4 separate regions of the Homo sapiens genome follow, and regions 1, 2 and 4 are each linked to region 3. Evidence: promoter capture Hi-C in 16 types of primary human blood cells and fetal thymus (Javierre and others, 2016). All regions are on one chromosome and are shown on one strand. The core of a region is centred on a gene start or on the middle of the fragment in contact, and the rest is flanking DNA. Distances in the headings are between cores, read along the strand shown.

Region 1 (3,638 bases), core at 13-2,512, 390 kb after region 3:
TCTTTTTAATTATGGGATGGGCGTGGTGGCTCATGCCTATATTCCTAGCACTTTTTTTTTTTGAGACTCGGTCTCACTCTGTTGCCCAGGCTGGAGTGCAGTGGCACAATCTCGGCTCACTGCAACCTCTGCCTCCTGGGTTCAAGTGATTCTCCTGCCTCAGTCTCCTGAGTAGCTGTGATTACAGGTGCATGCCACCACACCCAGCTAATTTTCGTATTTTTAGTAGAGACAGGGTTTTGCCATGTTGGCCAGGCTGTTCTCAAACTCCTGAACTCAGGTGATCCGCCCACCTCGGCCTCCCAAAGTGCTGAGATTACAGGTGTGAGGCACCACACCCAGCCTAATCCTAGCACTTTGGGAGGCCGAGGTGGGATGATAGCTTGAGCCCAGGAGTTTGAGACCAGCCTGGGCAACATGGTGAGACTCCCACTCTACCAAAAAAAAACACAAAAAAACAAAACAAAACAAAAAAACCATATAAAAATAATTGTGGGCCAGGCATGGTGGCTCACTCCTATAATCCCAGCACTTTGGGAGGCCGAGGTGGTCAGAGGAGTTTGAGGAGTTGAGGAGTTTGAGACCAGCCTGGGCAACATGACGAAACCCTGACTCTACAAAAAATGCAAAAATTAGCTGAGTGTGGTGGCACGCATCTGTAGTCCCAGCTATGTGGGAGGATCACTAGAGCCTGGGAGGTGGAGGTTGCAGTGAGTTGAGATCATGCCACTGCACTCCAGCCTGTGTGACAGAGAGAGACCATGTCTCAAAAATAAAATAAAATAAAATAAAAATCGTGGTGAAATATACATAACAAACATGATTTTTAAATTTGCCTTTCATCTCTAAAACTAAACTTCTAGACCAATTTGGAGTATCCAGAAAATATGGATGCTTTTTTTCTTTCTTTTTTTGATGACAGAGTCTCGCTCTGTCACCCAGGCTGGAGTGCAGTGGTATGATCTCAGCTCACTGCAATCTCCATCTCCCAGGCTCATGTGATTCTTGTGCCTCAGTCTCTCGAGTAGCTGGGACTACAGGTGAGTGCCAACATGCCCAGCTAACTTTTGTACTTTTAGTAGAGATGGGGTTTTGCTATGTTGGTGAGGATGGTATTGAACTCCTGGCCTCAAGTGATCGCCTGCCTTGGCTTCCCAAAGTGCTGGGATTACAGGTGTGAGGCACCGCACCCAGCCAACACACAGACGTTTTTAAAAATTGCTTTGGGCTGGGCGCGGTGACTCACGCCTGTAATCCCAGTACTTCGGGAGGCCGAGGCAGGCGGATCACAAGGTCAGGAGATCGAGACCATCCTGGCTAACACGGTGAAACCCCGCCTCTACTAAAAATATAAAAAATTAGTTGGGTGTGGTGCCAGGTGCCTGTAGTCCCAGCTACTGGGGAGGATGAGGCAGGAGAATGGCATGAACCTGGGAGGCGGAGCTTGCAGTGAGCTGAGATTGAGCCACTGCATTCCAGCCTGGGTGACAGAGCGAGACTCTGTCTCCAAAAAAAAAAAAAAAAAAAAAAAAAATTGCTTTGCTGGCTGGGCATGGTGGCTCGCATCTGTAATCCTAGTACTTTGAGAAGTCAAGGCTGGTGGATTGCTTGAGCCCAGGAGTTCAAGACTAGCCTGGGCAATATGGCAAAACTCCATCTCTACAAAAAATACAAAAATTAGCCAAGTGTGGTGGCTTGCACCTGTGGTCCCAGCTACTTGGGAGGCTGAAGTAGGAGGATAGCTTGACCTCAGGAGGTCGAGGCTGCAGTGAGCCACGATCGTGCCCCTGCACTTCAGCTTGGGTGACTGAGTGAGACCCTGTCTCAAACTCAAAACCAAGAACCACTTTGCTTGATACTTTATCATGTTGGAAAAGAAAAAAAAAATCACTGCTAAAAGCTCTGAAGGGTCTAACAGAAAATTTTGCCTTTCAGCTGGGTGCAGTGGCTCACGCCTGTAATCCCAGTACTTTGGGAGGCTGAGGCGGGGAGATCACCTGAGGTCAGGAGTTTGAGACCAGCCTAGTCCACGTGGGGAAATCCCGTCTCTACTAAAAATATATACAAATTAGCCGAGCGTGGTGGTGCATGCCTGTAGTCCCAGCTACTTGGGAGGCTGAGGCACGAGAATCGCTTGAACCCAGGAGGCAGAGGTTGCAGTCAGCCAAGATTGCACCACTGCACTCCAGCCTGGGCGACAGAGCAAGATTCCGTCTCAAGAAAAAAAAAAAAAAAGAAAATTTTACCTTTTACAATTTTAAGATGGCAAATATTTCAGAAATTGTAGGAGATAATATTTCTACATATATATTTATTCAGTTTTTAAAAAAACATAAACAATGGTTTAAAACCCAACCCAATTTTCTCAAGCTAAACAGTATTTCCTCAGAAAACCAAATACCACATGTTCTCACTTATAAGTGGGAGCTAAATGATGAGAACACATGGACACATAGAGGAAACAGCAGACACTGGGGCCTATTGGAGGGTAGAGGGTGGGAGGAGGGAGAGGACCAGGAAAAATAACGAATGAGTACTAGGCTACTAGGCTTAGTATCTGGGTGATGAAATAATCTGTTCGACAAACCCCCATGACACACATTTACCCACGTAGCAAACCTGCACAAGTACCCATGAACTTAAAATAGAAGTATTAAAAAAATTTCCTTTTCAAAGAAAGATACAAAGAAGTTATATCATCTTTAGTGAATGCTGGTCTTATGTCTCCTCCAAGATGTTGCCTCATTCAAACCACGAAAAAAAAAAAAAAACAAGACAAAACTAATATTGCTACTCTAACCATTTCCAAAATAAATTGCATAACTACAGGCTTTGTGAGAAGTGAAAAGAAAATAGGAGACAATAAAAAGGACAAAAAAAAAAAAAAATTGGGAGGCTGGGCGCGGTGGGTCACGCCTGTAATTCCAGCACTTTGGGAGGCTGAGGTCAGGAGTTTGAGACCAGCCTGGCCAATATGGCGAAACCCCACCTCTACTAAAAATACAAAAAAAAATTAGCCGGGAGCAGTGGTAGGCGCCCGTAATCCCAGCTACTCGGGAGGCTGAGGCAGGGAGAAATGCTTGAACCCGGGAGGCAGAGATTGCAGTGAGCTGAGATGGCGCCACTGTACTCCAGCCTGGGTGACAGAGTAAGAGTCCTTCTCGGGGGTGGGTGGGTGGGAAAAGGGAAAGGTATCTCAAATGCAAAATAAAAACAGGAGACGGGCCACTGGCTGAGGCCCAGCTCATGTCCCTAAACCTAACAAACAAACAAACAACAGAAAAAAAAAAACAAGAAAAAGAAAAAACAAATGGGCCAGGTGCAGTGTCTCACGCCTGTAATCCCAGCACTCTGGGAGGCCGAGGCTGGAGGACTGCCTGAGCCCAGGAGTTCAAGACCAATCTGGGCAACATAGGGAGACCCTATCTCTACTAAACAAACAAGAAAACAAAACCAAACCATTACAAAACATTAAGTGAGTTATAACCAGAGAGATGAAAACTATCAACTCAAGAATCTTTGAGATTTGGCACCTATCCTTTTTCTTTTGCTACACAGATACAGTTTTTTTTTTAATCCTCTCACACTACACTTTAAGCTAAAATTTTTTTTTCCTGGCTAGTCTACCTTCTTTTTGG
Region 2 (3,243 bases), core at 198-2,697, 350 kb after region 3:
TTAGTATGGAAAACGGTTTTTCAGTTTCATATCCCCAAAGTGCTGGGATTACAGGTGTGAGCCACAGCGCCTGGCTGTGTTCAGGTTACCGTCTAACCAAAGTTGAGCTCAAATAATTTAAAGAACAGATGAGGTGGTCTTTTGTGCTAACACATCCACTTGAATCTAGTCCCGTGTTGAGCAATGCTACCTTCTTTCCCAACTTCTTTAGCATACACGGATCTGCTAAATCAGAAGTCAGAAACTGCTTTTTCCACTCCTGCCTGGGCCCTGTGCATTTTTTTTTTTTTTTTTGAGACATAGTCTCACTCCATCACCCAGGCTGGAGTGCAGTGGCATGATCTCAACTTACTGCAACTTCTGCCTCCCGGGTTCAAGTGATTCTCATGCCTCAGCCTCCCGAGTGGCTGGGATTACAGGTGTGTGCCACCATGCCTGGCGAATTCTTTTGTATTTTTAGTAGAGATGGGGTTTTGCCATGTTGGCTGGGCTGGTCTTGAACTCCTAGCCTCATGTGATCCACCCACCTTGGCCTCCCAAAGTGTTTGGATTACGGTGTCAGCCACCGCGCCTGGCCTCTTTATACATTTGAATGGTTCTTTACACATTTGACTGAATATTTCGATACAAGAGATTTCACATGAAAATCTGAAAAGTAGATAGACTTGGAAACATAAGCGCAGCATCCTTAAAGAGCTGTGATCAATGGGAACTGACTGGCTACTTACTACCCCCTGAATCTGGGCAGCCTGAGATCTCTGTCCACCACAGAGCTCACTGCCCAGGTTGCCCACAATACTCACACAGGTAACCACCAGCCCCTGCAGGCATCTGGCTCCAGATCAAGGGTAAAAGTTCTTCATTTTTCTCTATTATGTATCTTTTCATTAATAAATGGAGAGGATACACATATATGGGGTGTAAATTGGAAACTGCTCATACAGAGAAAAAAATCAACTGATGAGAATGAGAACTCAGCAGAGTATCTGGATAGGTAGTATGCCACTTAAGTTTTTCATGAAGCAATGGCAGTGTCATCATGTGGAACAATATTAAAATTGCTACAACTTTTAAAGTCAAATAGTACAGTCAGAAAAATAATTCATGTCTTTATTTTTTTAGTAGAGATGGGGTTTCACCATGTTGGTCAGGCTGGTCTTGAACTCCTGACCTCGTGACCCTCCCACCTTAGCCTCCCAAAGTGCTGGGATTACAGGCGTGAGCCACCGTGCCTGGCCCATGTCTTGATTTTAGTTACAAGCAATTAGTTTAAAAATAATGGCTGCTGACATCTTACTTGCTAATTTAAAGAATAATCTTTTTTTTTTTTTTTTTTTTTTTTAAGATAGTCTCGCTCTGTCACCTAGACTGGAGTGCAGTGGCACAATTTCGGCTCACTGCAACCTCCACCTCCCAGGTTCAAGTGATTCTCCTGCCTCAGCCTCCCAAGTAGCTGGGATTTACAGGCGTGCACCACCACACCTGGCTAATTTTTGTATTTTCAGTAGAGATGTGGTTTCCTCATTTTGGCCAGCTGGTTTCAAACTCCTGATCTCAGGTGATTCACCTGCCTCAGGTGATTCCCCACATGGGATAACCTCCCAAAGTGCTGGGATTACAGGCGTAAGCCACTGCGCCTGGCCAAGAATAATCTTTTGAGAGATGGCAATTTATTTTATTTGGTACTGGTTTTGGTACTGGTGATCAAAAATTTAACAGACCAAAGACAGAAAAGTGAATACGTTATGCATATAATCATAGCAAACACCCATCAGACTGTTCAAAGGTACAGCAAACAAGACTGTGCAGTTAGTTCTTCCTTTCATTAAAAAATTACTTAATATAAATAAAAATGCTTTTATGAGGAATGATATCAAATGCATGACAGTTATCCTTCAAATCTAGCCAGCATGCAGTCATTCAGCGTGAGGGCCATTTTAACAATACCTAGAAAATACACACATGGAAAAGAAAACAAAACCCAAGTTTCATTAAAGGTGCAGTACCCACAATAAAAGGTTGATTAAAACAGTATCTTGTTCTATGATGACTGGATGGCTAAATGAATGAGAAAAGAATTAATGTGCTTCAAGATCAAACATGTTTCATTCAAACGGATGTTTTTTAAAAAAATGTAAGAAAGGTAAGTTGAGATTCTAAAGCATATCTTGAAGCAATATGCATTACTGCTAACAACAAATTTCTGGATTATGCTTCTAGTCATGTTAAAATATGAAAATGATGTGCTAAAAAAAGTCACTCAAGATAAAGGTGAAACACTCACTCAGATGTGCAATGTTTTAATGTAAAGTTTCACTGTTTTCATGGAATCTAAAATAAAGCCTGTCTGGTTATCTTCACATGAATCATTTCTCCTTTCCAGGCCTTCTCAATAAATGATGGATGAAATAAAACAGATCCTGTGGTTGAATGTCACTTTCTACACAAATGCCTTTTCTTTTCTCAGCTCTGTTTTTAGAAGGAAGTCACTTTGTTGACACTAATCACTACCATTTCAGGAGATAAGCTAACTGAAATCATATTTTTCCAGCTACGAAGCCCATAAATAATAAACTCTTTCAACAGCTAATGAAACCATAGCTTTCAGATAGTTAAGGTAGCAATGTAGTCCCTACTTAGTTTCATCAGAGAAAAATCACACCAAGTCCCACAAGTTGTGCCCCAGCTCAGAATATACTATAGACATCGGTGGAAGAAGGAAGTCACATAGGATGCCAGGTAGTTTCCATCTAGTTCGTCTACTCTAAATTCTTGGGTTTTGCCAGTGCCAGAAGTTCCATTTTAAATGAATCAGTAACCTATCACAAAATGTGACATACATCTTCAAAACCAGCCTCATGCTTAAAGAAAATACATCCAAGATCCAATAAAAGCTCAAATATATTTGGAACTCACAATATCCATACTTAATTAAGTAATGCAAGACTATTTCATAAATAAGTGCAAAAAGAAAAAAACTTAGACAAGAAAGGAAACAGGAACGCTCTTTAGACTTTGAACATTTTTCTGTTAAAGAGCAGGTAACACTGGATTTACAATCCTAATTTGTTTTTCGTACAAAAGAAGTAGTGTAATTTCCTCTGGATGTAAGAACATCACAGTGATCTTCAGAGAAAAAGACTGGGAAGGGGGCAAGATGGCCTAATACATTATGAGGGAGGCAAAAGCTAAAGAACATATCCTAAAATGGCAAAAACCACCAAAAAACCAACAACGGAAACA
Region 3 (3,300 bases), core at 641-3,140:
TCCCTTTGTGCTATCAAAGGAGGCTGCGCAAACCGCGTTTGTCCAAGGGCTGTGTGAAGGCCCCCGCGCGGAGCAGCTGGAACACGGGCTGATGAAATTACGGGGAATTCAAAGCAGCCGGCGTCGCCCGCTGTCTGGCTTCATTACGGGGACTGGCCTCGAAGGGAAGTTTATTCCAATAATTTAGAGGATTAGGATCTGACACCCTTCATTAGCGATTTGACATAAGCAGAAAAGACAGATCCTGCAGAATGGCCGCACAACGGGAAGGGACCAGCTCAGGCGGGGAGAAGGCAGCACCCGCCCGGCTGGGAAGGGGAAGGGTCTGGGTGTGGAAGCGAGGGTCCCGTGGCCGTTTTACAGTCCTGTGAGATGGCGAGCTGTGTTCTTGAAGGGGAAAGTGGACGTGGGGAAGGAGCGGCCTGGGCTCAGGCCTCAGTTTCCTTAGCTGTAAAGCGAGATTACCTTCAGGATCCCTTCCGTATCTGATGCGTGTGGGGGCCACTCCACCTACTGTCCCCGGGACACAGCAGCTCCTCAAGGCCCTTGTGGTTTGGCCTTGGAAAGGTACCTCTCTTTCGGGGCTCTATGTGCCTCCGCCCCCTACCCCCAGGATCGAGTGACCAACTCGAAAACACTCAGACTGCAGGCTGCTCTGTGGCATTTTAGATAGAAGCCATTTGCTGCCAAATGGGGGAGGAATCGCCCCCAGCCCCTGGCAGCTTCTGGCTCTCTTCCCGGCCCCTCCACAAATATAGCCCCTGATGTTTCAAAAATTTCTTGTCCAGTCTGTGAAAACCAGAGTTTGGGCTGTGCCTTGACAGCAGTTCTGGCAGATGGATGGGGGAGGGGTGATTTTAAAAGGCCCCTGCCCACACCCAGCAAGCTGGTGTCCCTGTTTCCTGTACCGTGGTGGGGTAGCTGTGCGACATGGGCAGGTTGCTTAGCCTCTCTGTGCGTCCTTTCCTCCGATCTGAAATGGAGGTGCAGTTTGTTGTGAGGATTAAATGAGATGATGCGTTCAGAGAAGCCACACGTGTGAAGAGCCCAGTGCATCTGGCAGCTGGTACCACCAGGACTGCTCACTCTGTGCGACCTTGGACAAGTCGCTCGCCCTCTTCGACCACAGACCTTCTCCTTTGGGAAGTGGGGGAGGCCAGACAAGGCTGGCAGTCAGAAGGAGCTCACTGAAGAGCAGCCACTGTGGTCGTCAGCGAGGGCAGCTGGACTCCGGCACAATCCTGAGACACTGTGACCGCGGAGGTTTTCTCGGTGTGTCGATGGAAGAGGGAGGAATGTGATCCGTCCCAGCCGCCGGCGGGGCCAGAGCATATCTGGTATGTGTCTCTGGAATGATTTGGGGAAAATTAACTGAAGTTGGAACTTAAGACGCAAACTGCCCTGGACACAGAGATACAGAGCTGTCCGTGCGCACACCCCCCACAAAGGGCCGGGGCCGGGGTGGGAGTCGGCTTACAGGGCACAGCGCGGCGCAGGCCCGCCCTGGAATGGCCGTGAACTTGTTGTTTTTCCACGTCATTTGCTCTCAAATGTACTATCAAGCCGGGCGATGCTAACCCGGTGGCTGCAGGTCCCTCCTCGTAACAAGCGATTGTGTGTTCTTTAGAGGTGGCCAAAGGGGAGGAGGGGGCCCGGCCCCAAGGAGGTGGGGGAAAGGGAAACAAGCCCTCCTTCAGAGTGAGCTTGCGTGTCCTGGAGCCAGCTCCCCGCAAAGCACATGCCATTTCTGGCCCTTGAAGGGGTTAAAGGCCTCCTGGAGTCAAAAACAAGCAGGTGTCCCACCGTGCCAGATACGCTGCCTAAACTGCTTCCAGCTTCTTTTTTTTTTTTTCCCCCCTTCTGCAATAAGTCTGTGATCAGCCACGGGACAGAGGCGCCAGCAGCCTGCCTGTGACAGGCATCAGGTTAGCTGGCTCCCACTCGGGTGGCGCGCCCAGGATATAAATCCGGGCGCGGGCCCCTGCTGTGGCTCCTCTCCCTGCACACTCAGGAGAGGGAGCTTCCTTCTAAAGACCTTTCTTTTATCTGAAGCCGCACAGCCCGGCAGGCTGTGCTGACTTGGTGGAGGCAGCAGCGGCAGAGCAGCCTGAGCAGCAGCCTGAGCAGGAAACCTGCTGGGGTGGGGAGGGCAGGTGTCTGCAGCCCCTGAGAAGAAGGCCCTGGTGGGCCCCAGACCCTGGCATCGTTTCAGGGGAGGTCTCTAGCCGCCCCAGCCTGCACCATGTGGGCCCCAAGGTGTCGCCGGTTCTGGTCTCGCTGGGAGCAGGTGGCAGCGCTGCTGCTGCTGCTGCTACTGCTCGGGGTGCCCCCGCGAAGCCTGGCGCTGCCGCCCATCCGCTATTCCCACGCCGGCATCTGCCCCAACGACATGAATCCCAACCTCTGGGTGGACGCACAGAGCACCTGCAGGCGGGAGTGTGAGACGGACCAGGTGAGTGGGGTCCAGAGACCAGAGATGGACCACGTGAGCCTGTGAGTGACGGGGGTGGGAGCCGTCGGGGAGGGACTGTGTGGGAGTGTGAGGAGGACAACGTGAGTGGGGTCCAGAAGCCACAGTGTGAGGCGGACCAGGTGAGTGGTGTCCGGAAGCAGGAGTGTGAGATGGACCAGGTGAGTGGGATCCAGAAGCCACAGTGTGAGGCAGACCAGGTGAATGGGGTCCAGAAGCCGCAATGTGAGATGGACCAGGTGAGTGGTATCTAGAAGTGGGAGTGTGAGGTTGACCAGGTGAGTGGGGTCCAGAAGCCGGTGTGTGAGGCGGACCAGGTGAGTGGGGTCCAGAAGCCACAGTGTGAGATGGACCAGGTGAGTGGGATCCAGAAGCTGGAGTGTGAGGCGGACCAGGTGAGTGGGATCTAGAAGTGGGAGTATGAGGTGGACCAGGTGAGTGGGGTCCAGAAGCCACAGTGTGAGATGGACCAGGTGAGTGGGATCCAGAAGCTGGAGTGTGAGGCGGACCAGGTGAGTGGGATCTAGAAGTGGGAGTATGAGGTGGACCAGGTGAGTGGGGTCCAGAAGCCACAGTGTGAGATGGACCAGGTGAGTGGGATCCAGAAGCTGGAGTGTGAGGCGGACCAGGTGAGTGGGGTCCAGAAGCCAGAGATGGACCATATGAGCCTGTGAGTGATGGGGGTGGGAGCCACAGGGTGGGGACCATGCAGGAGTGCCCTGCAGGTCCTAGGAAGGTGAAGGAACACAGGCCCCGTTCACCTGGAGAGAAACAGGGCACCATCCTGTCTATTAACACCGAAGCCTGGAAGGAGAGGTGGGAGCGATGTC
Region 4 (3,612 bases), core at 510-3,009, 370 kb after region 3:
GGCATGAGGCACTGCACGCAGTCTTTATTTTTTTCTTTTTTTTGAGACAGAGTTTTGCTCTTGTTGCCCAGGCTGGAGTGCAATAGCACAATCTCAGCTCACTGCAACCTCTGTGTCTTGGGTTCAAGCATTCTCCTGCCTCAGCCTCCCAAGAACTGGGATTACAGGTGCCTGGCCCCAGGCCCAGCTAATTTTTTTGTATTTTTAGTTTCATCATGTTGACCAGGCTGGTCTTGAACTCCTGACCTCATGATCTGCCCTTCTAAAGTGCTGGAATTACAGGTGTGAGCCACCTGTAATTGTAATAAAAAAAGGGCCCAGCCTTTTTTTTTCTTTTTAACATGATCAAGGTGTTTCAGGAATCACTGTTTTAAAAAAATTTTTTTTTTGAGACAGTCTTGCTTTGTTGCCCAGGATGGAGTGCAGTGGTGCGATCTCAGCTCACTGCAACCTCCCCTTCCTGGGTTCAAGTGATTCTTCTGCCTCAGCCTCCCGAGTAGCTGGGACTACAGGCACCCGCCACCACGCCTGGCTAATTTTTGTATTTTTAGTAAAGATGGGGTCTCACCATATTGACCAGGCTGGTCTCGAACTCCTGACCTTGTGATTCGCCCCCCTCGGCCTGTTTTAAATCTTATTGGGTCATTCTGATCACTAGTGAGGAAAAGAGGAAGAACAGGGTTTGGAGCCAGTCTTGTCCAGCTGTCTGACCATGTGACATGGCAGCCATCATAATTGTTTTCCTTTTTCTTTTTTTCTGTTTTTTTTTTGAGACAGAGTCTCGCTCTGTCACCCAGGCTGGAGTGCAGTGGCACCATCTTGGCTCACTGCAACCTCCACCTCCCGGGTTCAAGTGATTCTCCTGCCGCAGTCTCCTGAGTAGCTGGGACTACAGGTGTGTGCCACCACGCCTAGTTAAATTTTTTGTAGTTTTAGTAGAGACAGGGTTTCACCGTGTTAGCCAGGATGGTCTTGATATCCTGACCTCGTGATCCGCTTGCCTTGGCCTCCCAAAGTGCTGGGATTACAAGTGTGAGCTACCATGCCTGGGCCATCATAATTGTTTTTCTTTTAGCTGAAGGTTTTAAACTGTTGAAATGCAAATCACGATTTAAGTTACACCTTTATGTAAGTAGACTTTCCTTAGGTGGTTCTTGACCATGGCTGTACATGATATTCACCTGAGACCTTAAAAAAATGCCAATGTTAGCCAGGCAGGTGGCTCCTGCCTGTAATCCCAGCTACTCAGGAGGCTGAGGCAGCAGAATTGCTTGAGCTCAGGAGTTCGAGACTATCCTGGGCAACAGTGAGACCCCATTGCTAAGAAAACAACAACAACAAAAAAACTGGTTGGGTGTGGTGGCTTCTGCCTGCAGTACCAGCTGCTCAGGAAGCTGAAGTGGGAGAATTGCTTGAGCTCAAGGCTGTGGTGAGCTATGATCACGCCATTGCACTACAGCCTGGGTGACAGGGCGAGATACCATCTCAAAAAAAAAAAAAAAAAAAAAATGCCACGTACGGTGGCTCATGCCTGTAATCCCAGCACTGTGGGAGGCTGAGGCAGGTGGGTTACTTGAGTCCAGGAATTCGAGACCAGCCCAGGCAACATGGTGAAATCCCATCTCTACAAAATATACAAAAATTAGCCGGGCGTGGTGGCATGCACCTGTAATCCCAGCTACTCAGGGGGCCGAGGCAGGAGGATCACCTGAGCCTGGGAGGCAGAGGTTGCAGTGAGCTGAGATCATGCCACTGCACTCCAGCCTGGATGACAGAGTGAGACCATGTCTTTAAAAAAAAAAAAAATGCTGGGTGCCGTGGCTCATGCCTATAATCCTAGCACTTTAGGAGGATTGCCTGAGCCCAGGAATCTGAGACCAGCCTGGGCAACCTAGGGAGACCCTGTACCTACAAAAATAAAAATAAGAAAATTAGCCAGGCATGATAGGACACACCTGTGATCCCAGCCACTCTGAAGGCTGAAGTGGGAGGGTCACTTGAGCCTGTGATCACACTACTGCACTCCAACCTAGGCGACAGAGAGAGACTGTCTCAAAAAAAAATGAACAAACAAACAAAAAACCCAAGAATTTCTCTTCTAGGTCTTTTTGTAAGAGCAGTTTCAGATGAGGGGGAAAAGAGAAAAGCAGCAAAAACTACTACCAAAAGGAAGAAAAAGGCCTAAAGAGGAAACACAGGAAACTGAAGATAAACTTGGCCTTGTTACAATTCTGAATTGGACTAGCCTTGTCTAGAAGTAACTTAAATAAATATTTTTCCTCTAAATTAGGATATACTTCCATAAATAAGTGTAGCAGACTCAAAATGACAATCTTGACAATAAACTATGTAAGATCAGAGGATTCAAATTTATTTTGAAATTCCTAGCAACCTTCTCCCCAGTGAAGATATACACATACACATTTTATGTCAAAACGAATATGCTTGGGGACTCCTTCTATTAGCTTATACCCAAATCCTATAATTGCATTTCTATATTTTAAAACCTATTATCTTACCTTTCTAATGGTTGCGACACATATTGTAGAAAGATTTAATGGGTCTATAGCTTCCAATTTCATTCCTTCCTTGAACCATTCCCCACTCTGGTCTACTTCTTTTACCTAAAGAATTATATGAAAGCACATCTACTGTTACAAATGTTGTTATTTTGATAATTAAAATATTACCAATGTGAAAAGATTTACCAGGTGCCTTCTCCTACCTACCTAATATTATAACTCAAACTTCCATTAAGGTTTAGAGAGAATTCAGACAAATAGAATTTAAGAATAATTATAATAAAGAGTTGTGACACCTATGAATTTACAAGGTCTTAATTCTTTTAAGTGAACATATGTAATTGTGATTTCCGTAATTTTAGGAAAAAACCCACAACCCTCTTTCAAACCTAATTTACAAATGAGGGTTCTTATAAAAACTTCTTACCTTAGCAAATAAATGTGGTGGTGTATCAAAATGTCCATCCTGTTTCTTTGTAATATCTACAAGGAAAAGTTACACACTAATCTGTCAGCATTTGTGAGAAGACCAAAAACCACGTTCTTTGAAGGCTTCAAACTCACAAAGTATGTCATACTATAAAACATGGCAAGAAGACATGCCTTCTACATTTGGGGTGAATATTCTTTAATAGTCTTTTCTCTCTTCAGAGTACATGTGCATATATGCTTTTAAATACATTCAGCCAATTTTAATGCTCATAATTTTAATGTAATTCCCTAGTTAGAAAATTACAACTTTAGAAGCATGTTTTCATGTGCTTAGTATTAAGTCTAACCACATTTAATCTTGCTATTTTGATTAAAATTGAATGGAAAGGGAAAGGTATCTTTAGATCTTTCAAATGGGCTGAATAATAAAAGAAAGAAACAATTATAGTTGTGACCAGAAGAAGTTCCTTCTTTTGGAGAACAAGTGGAAGGAATATAAAAAAATTTATTAGGACACTAATATGGTGTGAACCTTCACTAATTAAGGTAGAAGAAGCAGCCCAAACAACTAGAATGCTATTTTTCATCTATGCAATTCTGCAGAGAAAAATAACCAACTAGTATAATCAGCCTCAATGATGCTTTTGACAGGAGTTCT

What was found. Contacts are between HindIII fragments. The CHiCAGO score rates a contact against its expected background, and 5 or more counts as called.
Region 1: a contact is called between a fragment that was not itself captured here and the fragment with the promoter of WFIKKN2 in region 3, in 1 of 17 cell types (neutrophils). The highest score is 7.5, in neutrophils.
Region 2: a fragment that was not itself captured here is called in contact with the fragment with the promoter of WFIKKN2 in region 3 in 2 of 17 cell types (neutrophils and activated CD4 T cells); the score reaches 8.0 in neutrophils.
Region 4: a fragment that was not itself captured here is called in contact with the fragment with the promoter of WFIKKN2 in region 3 in 2 of 17 cell types (neutrophils and activated CD4 T cells); the score reaches 5.8 in neutrophils.

What each region holds. Positions count from the first base shown.
Region 1 is chr17:51,225,735-51,229,372 of GRCh38, forward strand. All of the region lies in intron 2 of MBTD1 (mbt domain containing 1), which reads right to left. Among named protein-coding and RNA genes, the nearest start is that of MBTD1, 32 kb to the right of the region's middle. The HindIII fragment of the contact is 9,545 bases long and covers 1-3,638 here.
Region 2 is chr17:51,181,849-51,185,091 of GRCh38, forward strand. All of the region lies in intron 16 of MBTD1 (mbt domain containing 1), which reads right to left. Among named protein-coding and RNA genes, the nearest start is that of NME2, 17 kb to the left of the region's middle. The HindIII fragment of the contact is 5,892 bases long and covers 1-3,243 here.
Region 3 is chr17:50,833,696-50,836,995 of GRCh38, forward strand. WFIKKN2 (WAP, follistatin/kazal, immunoglobulin, kunitz and netrin domain containing 2) reads left to right here and starts at 1,891. Exons shown (of 2, transcript NM_175575.6): 1 at 1,891-2,452. The coding sequence starts at 2,243. The HindIII fragment of the contact is 3,752 bases long and covers 1-3,300 here.
Region 4 is chr17:51,199,073-51,202,684 of GRCh38, forward strand. It overlaps MBTD1 (mbt domain containing 1), which reads right to left. Exons shown (of 17, transcript NM_017643.3): 11 at 2,950-3,005; 12 at 2,520-2,624. Among named protein-coding and RNA genes, the nearest start is that of NME2, 34 kb to the left of the region's middle. The HindIII fragment of the contact is 4,729 bases long and covers 1-3,612 here.